2 separate regions of the Homo sapiens genome follow, and region 1 is linked to region 2. Evidence: promoter capture Hi-C in 16 types of primary human blood cells and fetal thymus (Javierre and others, 2016). All regions are on one chromosome and are shown on one strand. The core of a region is centred on a gene start or on the middle of the fragment in contact, and the rest is flanking DNA. Distances in the headings are between cores, read along the strand shown. Region 1 holds the start of DCTN3 (dynactin subunit 3). Region 2 holds the start of UBAP1 (ubiquitin associated protein 1).

Region 1 (3,697 bases), core at 755-3,254, 440 kb after region 2:
TAGCCACAAGGTAGAAAAGCACACCACAATTTACCAATTGAATTGGGTGTAGGTAAATGTCCTCATAATCTTTCTATCCCCAAAGGGCTATTCCAGTGACCTAATGAACTGAAGGGCTAGGGCCAGGTACCAGGAAGCTGAGGGGTGGGATGTCGGGCAGGCAGGCACATCATGGAAGCACTTACTCTTTTTGTAGAGAATCTTCACCCTCTCCCTCTTGCTGGAAATGTTCCCCAAAGCCACCTGCACCTTGACCAGGCCGTCAGCCACCTGTAAGGGAAGTGGTGGTTAATTCCAAGATATACTACCTGGCTCAAGGCTTGGAAAAGTTAAAGAACCCTCATTCTCCCAGACTCTCAAACCTGAATCCCAGTAATCTAGGTTGGCCTCCCTTCTCTAATATTAAAGGAGATGCAGCCCCACCTTCCAGGAATCCTTAAAGTGGAGAGAGAGAATCATGTACTCCTTGGGGAGTTTCAAGTCTGATGGGGAAGATAACGAACTATTTTAGAGTCTATGGAATATAGAGTATACACAATATATTTTCTGGTTCCTAAGTCCTGGGTTTGGGCATGAGAAACACAAGCATCCTCATTCAAGCCTTCATGACCTCTAGATTGGCTGGCCTACCTCTAGCCCTATCCCCTCCACATCAAATTTGGTGTGGGAGATGGAAGAGTCCAAACAACTGGGATCCCAATGATGGTGCAATCACTGAATTAGGGAATACAGAAGAGAATCAGGTTAGGGGAGAGAAAGAGTACAGTTAAGGGCATACAGATTGAGTTTGAAATGACTATTGGATATCCAAGTGGAAAAGTCCAGTAGACAACTAGACATAAAAGTCTGGTTCTCAGAACAGAAATCTGGACCAGAGATATACATTTGAGACATATTGACATGTAAATAGTAATTGACACCATGGAAGCGAGTGAGCCTACCTAAAGTTTAGGGGTAGAATGTAAAGAATCCCAATATTAAAGGGTCAAATAGAGGAGGAGACTAAGGAAGTGACTGCACTCACCCAGTTTTTAGGGTAGAGGATGAGGAATGCCAGGGGGGAGGCAAATAACACTGAGAAGCAGCCGTAAGAGGTAGAAGGAAAACCAGGAGGGTCAGCGTCATAGATCCCAAAGGAAGAGAATGTTTGAGAAGTTAGTTCTGAAATGGGAGCACAGTCTGCTAGTGACAACTAATTCCTCATTTAGTGTACAAACAGACATCATTACCTTGGACGCACTTAGCTCCAGGACATGCCTGACACGCCATCAGAAGTTCTTCAATAAAAGATCTTCCCATAGTAGAAAGGGGAGGAGAGGGCACCTGAGCTTCGTAGTTGTCAAAATTCTGTCACTGGTATAAAGCAGTGCTAGTCCACATCTGAATACCCAGTACCCAGTCTCTTCCCTTCCTAATCCTGGTCCTTTCAGACCTCACTTCTCACCCTTTGGCGTTTTCCTTATCCACCTCTGCTCTGCCTCCCCAGGGGTCCCATGGACCTCTTCCTGCACAATTCATTTAGCAATTAATTATGCAGGGCTCTATGACGGGCCTTCCTATCGTGGACTTCAGCTCTTATTGAAACTCTCATTAGTCAGCTTCTCGTGTCAGGTCTCCCCAACTATAGCTCGCGAGGGCAAGGGCGGAGTCTCAGCTACAGTAGGTACGGAGCCCACTCTCAGGCTGGCTTAACCACCCGCAGAGCCCCCTATGACAGTGGACCCCGATGGTCCAATCAGCTCTGGGAGGTCCCGGACCTTTGTTATTTCAAAGGCCGGGCTGCGGAGAACAGGACTGGAGCGGTTGCATCCCGAGGGCCAGGACAGTGGACCGCTCTTGCTCTGCTCCAGAAAGGGACTACCGGACCAGACTACTCACCTTCCGTGAGCCGCGCGCCCCGCCCGGCCCGTACACCCAGCGCTCCAGCTCTTCCACTCGGGCCTGTAGCCGCTGCAAGTCAGTCAGACCCGCCATCGCTACTACCGACCCACCTCGGCCAGGAAACAGCCAGAGGGCGGGACGTCAGTCCAAATAAGAAGGCTAGCCAATCCGAGTGCACGAGCGGCCCTTTATGCAGGAAGTGACGCCATGATTCAGCCCTTCAGTGCCGGAAGTTACTCCTCGGAGCTGTCAAAAGCTGATTACCTTGGCAACGGCTCTGTCCCATCCCTCCCCTGGCTTCCAGTGCCTGGTTGTCAAGATAACCTTTGCTTTTCGGGTACCAAAGAGCTTTCCCCACGCCATTCCCTGAGTTTGCACGTGTTCCAGGATAGGTCCATTCCCATAGATACATCATTAGGAGGCTCCGTGAGTTACCATAAACTTTTGGAGTCTTCTAAGGTTCAGTTGATTAAGTAACTTGCCCAAGGCCACCCAGCACTATAGGGACAGAAACAGGACTTGAACTCAGGCTGTCTGATTCAAGAGACGGAGCTCTTCTATTCTCACGAAACTTTGCTATTCTGCCTTAACCTCTGAAAGCCCCTGGCCCAAGGCAGCCTATGTTCCACATCATTCCTCCCCACCTCCCATACCCAAACAAGAAAGGAGGCATCAGAGAGGGAGGGACCGCAGCTTTATTGTCTAGATGTGACCTGAGGGATGTCTCTTTCACAGTACCCCAACCCAACCTTTCACTTGGCTCCTGAAGAGAAGCAGGGCTGACTCAAAAGGGTAGGGTCCTAGAGATGACATTGACAGAGGGAACACATGAGGAGATGATGGGGTTACTGGAGGAAGAACCCTTTGGTAGGTGCTGCTGGAATTGGCCAGGGAGGAGGTGCCCTCCCTTTACAATGAGGTAGGTGTAACATCAAAAGAAACTTTGGTTTTAAGTCCACATGGCATGGGAGGTGTCGTCCCCTCCCAGGGCTGGGTCCCAGAGTGGGCAGCCAGAAAGAATCAAAGCAGGGGGTCTCCTCCCCCCTCAGCAATGGGGCTGGGACTCTTAGTTTCAAGTAGGACCTCTCAGGGCAAGATGCTGGAAGGGGGCCCTGTGGAGGGTGGGGGTGCAGGGTTGGTTGGACCCTGGGAAGCTGGCACAGGCTGGCGGCGGGCAAAGAGGACACCTGGCAAAGGGGTGAGGAGATGGTAGAGGGCAAAAACAAGCAGGAGGGGGTAGGGTATGGAAACAGAAGAGGGGAACAAAAGTAAGTGTTCTGGTTGCTAGAACACTACACACGTACCCCTGCCACAAACCAATGAGGACAAGCTCCTTGGGTCAGTAAGAGACTCCATTGCTAATGTAGATACCTCAAACAGGTAAACAAGGAATATTTATGCTGATACATAGGCCCAAGACAAGGCAGACATCCCCTGGTACTCATGCCAGAGAGGTCATGCCTTGGATCCCATGCCATGTAGACACCCCCTTTAACCCATGCCAGTCTAGCAATCCCCTGAACTCCATGTTACTCATGCAAGTTTAGATATCCCTGAACTTCATGCTAGTAGAGGAAGTCTAAAATCCCCATGCCAGCCTAAATACCCCTGACCCCATGCCAGTGTAGACAGCCTGCAGTACCCATACCAGTGTAGACCACCCCGTTGATCTCTAGGGCCATGTTGATACTGCTGATGCCACTGCCTGCCAGATTAAGAGGCCCATCCAGCCGCTCTTCTGTCCAGGAGGGGGCAGAGGAATCACATTTTGGAGAATCAGACTTCTGACTTATTAATAGAATTTCCCCCCTCCATC
Region 2 (4,021 bases), core at 1,504-4,003:
CACACCTAGAAACTGACAAGTATGAATCACTCCTAGGAAGGTTAAGAGGTATTTGTTTTTCTAGGTAAATGCCTCCACTTCTTTTCCATTTCTTTTTTTTTTTTTTTTTTTTTTGAATGGAGTTTTGCTCTCGTTGCCCAGGCTGGAGTGCAATGGTGTGATCTCAGCTAACCGCAATCTCTGCCTCCTGGGCTCAAGCAATTCTCCTGCCTCAGCCTCCCAAGTAGCTGGGATTACAGGCATTTGCCACCACACCTAGCTAATTTTTTTTGTATTTTTAGTAGAGACGGGGTTTCTCCATGCTGGTCAGGCTGGTCTTGAACTCCTGACCTCATGTGATCTGCCCGCCTCGGCCTCCCAAAGTGCTGGGATTACAGGCATGAGCCACTGTGCCTGGCCTTTTTTTTTTTTCTGAGACAGAGTGTTGCTCTGTCACCTAGGCTGGAGTGACGTGGCGCAACCTCACCTCACTGCAACCTCCACCTCCCAGGTTCAAGTGATTCTTCTGCCTCAGCCTCTTGAATAGCTAGGATTACAGCTGCCACCATCACGCCCAGCTAATTTTTGAATTTTTAGTAGAGATGGGGTTTCACCATGTTGGCCAGGCTGCTCTCGAACTCCTCACCTCAGGTTATCCACCTGCCTTGGCCTCCCAAAGTCCTGGGATTATAGGCATGAGCCACTGCGCCCAGACTTTTTTTTTTTTTTTTTTTTTTGAGACAGGGTCTGGCTTTGTCACCCAGGCTGGAGTGCAGTGGCTTGATCTCGCTCACTGTAACCTCCTCCTCTTGGGTTCAAGCGATTCTCATGCCTCAGCCTCCCACATAGCTGGGATTACAGGCGCCCACCTAGCTAATTTTTATTTTGTATTTTTAGTAGAGATGGGGTTTCACCATGTTGGGTAGGCTGGTCTTAAACTCCTGACCTCAGATGATCTGCCTGCCTCAGCCTCCCAGAGTTCTGGGATTACAGGCGTGAGCCACCACACCCGACCTTGTTTTTTTTTTTTTTTTTTTTTTGAGACAGAGTCTTGCTCTGTTGCCCAGGCTAGAGTGCAATGGCATGATCATTGCTCACAGCAGCCTTAACCTCCCAGGCTGAGGCCATTTTCTCACCTCAGCCTCCTGACTAGCTGGGACCACAGATGTGTACAACCATGTCTGGCTAATTTTTTACAATTTTATTTTATTTTTAGACAGGGTCTCATTTGCAGAACCCAATAGCTGGGACTACAGTCGTGTACCACCATGCCCAACTGTTTTTTGTTGTTGTTAGAGATGAAGATTCTCCACGTTGCCCAGGCTGGTCTCAAACTCCTGAGCTCAAGAGATCTGACCATCTTGGCCTCCCAAAGTGCTGGGATTACAGGCGTTAGCCATCGTGCCTAGTCATTTTATTTTATTTTATTTTATTGCGACAAGATCTTGCTCTGTCACCCATGTTTGGAGTACACCAGCACAATCCTGGCTCACTGTAGCCTCGACCTCTCAGGCTCAAGTGATCCTCCTATCTCAGCCTCCTGAATAGTTAGGACCACAGGCACATGCCACCACGCCCAGATAATTTGAGTTTTTGTAGAGACAAGGTCTCACTATGTTGCCCAGGCTCACCTAATTTTTACCAAACTTTTTGTAGAGACGGGGGTCTCATGTTGCTTAAATTGGTCTTGAACTCCTGGGCTCAAGAGTCATCTTATTCAATTAATAATTCTCTGTCTCCTAATTCCAGCAGACATAGAAAGACACAGAAGGCCAGCGCCATGGCTCACGCCTACAATCCCAGCAATTTGGGAGACTGAGGCTTGAGCCCAGAAGTTTACCACCAGCCTGGGCAACATGGTGAGACCCCGTCTCTCCATATATATATATAAAATAATAAAAATTATCCGGGCGTGTTGGCATGTGGCTATAGTCCAAGCTACTCAGAAGGCTGAGGTGGGAGGATCACTTGAGCCCGACAGGTGGAGGTTGCAGGGTTGCAGTGCGCCAACATCGCGCCACTGCACTCCAGCCTAGGCGACAGAGCGAGACCCTGTCTCAAAAAAACAAAAAACACCCCAAACAGAAACAACAACAACAACAAAAACCCCCACAGAAGGCAGTGAAGGCTTGGGATAGGATTACCTGGTTTAAACCCATAGAATGTCAGAATTGAAGGAAGACTTAGAGGTCACCTTTGTTTTTTTTTCTTTTGATACAGAGTCGCGTTCCGTTGCCCACCTGGAGTGCAGTGGCGCGATCACGGCTACCGCAGCCTCGACCTCCCGGGCTCAAGCGACCCTCCTGCCTCGGCCTCTCAAAGTGCTGGAGTTACAGGCGTGAGCCACTGCGCCCGGCCTAGAAGTCACCTTTCAACTTAGTCCTCTATACATGGGAAAAGTGAGGTCCAGAAAGGGTATGAGTTGTACCAGGTCGCTGACCCTGAACAGAAGCTAGATGTCTTAATTCCCAAATAGGACTCGCTGCTAACTCTTTGGGCATACCTTCGCGATTCAAGGCTCTTGGGTTTCCCGCTTTGGCCGCCTCGCCAAACCCAAGTCTTACACTCTTAGTGACCCCCTCCTTTCCTCCTTCCCCCTTAGGTCAGCAGGGTTTACTCATTCCAATTGCAATGCTCCATGTTGCCGGAGTAGCTCCTCGCTAGAAGAGAGATTAGTTATGTCACCGTCGGCTCCTCCCATTGGTCCGGGCGTGTGGAGCGCGGCGCCATGACGTCAGACGCCCAAATGAGTGGGGCGGTGAGGGGAAGGAGGAGGGAAGTAGGACTTCAACATGGCGGCTGCGGCACTGGCGGTGGCTACGGTGACGGCCTGGCCCGGAGCGGGCAGAGTTGGAGGTGGTGGCGTTCGCTCTCCCTAGGGGCTGTCGGGAGCTCAGCGGGGACCGAGCCTGGGAGGCCGGCCGGTGCCAGCACCTTTCGGCTTCTGAGACGGCGGCAGCAGCGGCATTCAGGTGAGGGGGGCCTCCCTCTGGGGGAGGGGGAAGAGGGGCGGAGTTGGGGGAGGGGGGCTGGTACTGGGAGACTGGGAAACGGGATGGGGGGCCGAGCGAGGTGAAGGGCGCCGGAGCTAGGAGGTGGGAGGGAAAAGTGGCCGGAGATCCGCGATTCGGGGAGGATTCTGGGAGAAGGGTCGGAGTGAGGGGACCGGAGTTGAAGGGGCGGAGGGGAAGTGGGATGCGGAAAAATGAGTTCGGATTAAGGAGACTAATACCCTACTGGAAGACAGGCATAGTAGACATCTATCGGGCTGGACTGAGAACTCGGTGGGAACTAGAGGATGTCAGGGAGGGGGACCCAGATTTTAGTAAAGAAGGTGAGTGGTGGGGAGTTGAGGGTGAGCTGGGGACGTGCGGTGTAGATTTAGTTCTCCCTGAGGCAATGAGATTGGGGAGAAAAGGTGGAGACTAGACCAGAGGTGAGTGATCTTTGGGGATATCTTTGGCCTTGTCTGGTCTTCTCCAGGTATGTTTATCCGCCTTTTTTGTTTCTTGGGTGGAGGCTTACCTATACAGTCCACCTGGGCCTCAGGAACCGCCCCAGTCTTTCTTGTGGAACGTCAGGTTCATTTATTTGAGCTATATCAGTGATCTTTGACCTTTGTTGCCAAATGTAATTGTTTCCAGACTAGCGTCTTAAAAGTATGGTTGGGCATAAAAATACGTTTTATGTTAAACTGAAAAAAAAATTGTTACTTTTAGTCACCATGCAGTGTTGCGAAACCAGATTTGGTAATTTAGTTAAGTATTACGTATATTCTGTTCTAACTTTACTCGTTAGTGCTTTGTCTCTTCAGTTATTAGCATTTGAGAATTTGAATAGATATGATGGATGTTTTCCTTTTTAATTTTGTCAGATTTGATGGTGGGAAAAACAAGATACTTAGTCTTTAGTGATATATAGTTCTTTCTAGTTAATGTCCCAACCTAAACTAAAAGTTTCCGTATTGGCCGGGCGCTGTGGCTCACGTCTGAAATCCCAGCACTTTGGGAGGCCGAGGCGGGCGGATCACGAGGTCAAGAGT

Evidence for each region. Contacts are between HindIII fragments. The CHiCAGO score rates a contact against its expected background, and 5 or more counts as called.
Region 1: the fragment with the promoter of DCTN3 here is called in contact with the fragment with the promoter of UBAP1 in region 2 in 1 of 17 cell types (monocytes); the score reaches 6.2 in monocytes.

Annotation. Positions count from the first base shown.
Region 1 is chr9:34,618,491-34,622,187 of GRCh38, forward strand. It overlaps DCTN3 (dynactin subunit 3), which reads right to left and starts at 2,005. Exons shown (of 7, transcript NM_007234.5): 1 at 1,879-2,005; 2 at 186-270. The coding sequence starts at 1,974. ARID3C (AT-rich interaction domain 3C) reads right to left here. Exons shown (of 8, transcript NM_001017363.4): 7 at 3,530-3,619; 8 at 2,559-3,068. The coding sequence ends at 2,968. The HindIII fragment of the contact is 4,259 bases long and covers 1-3,697 here.
Region 2 is chr9:34,176,290-34,180,310 of GRCh38, forward strand. UBAP1 (ubiquitin associated protein 1) reads left to right here and starts at 2,754. Exons shown (of 7, transcript NM_016525.5): 1 at 2,754-2,951. RefSeq lists a silencer at 1-116 and enhancers at 1,803-2,761, 2,567-2,996, 2,762-3,718, 3,719-4,021. The HindIII fragment of the contact is 10,457 bases long and covers 1-4,021 here.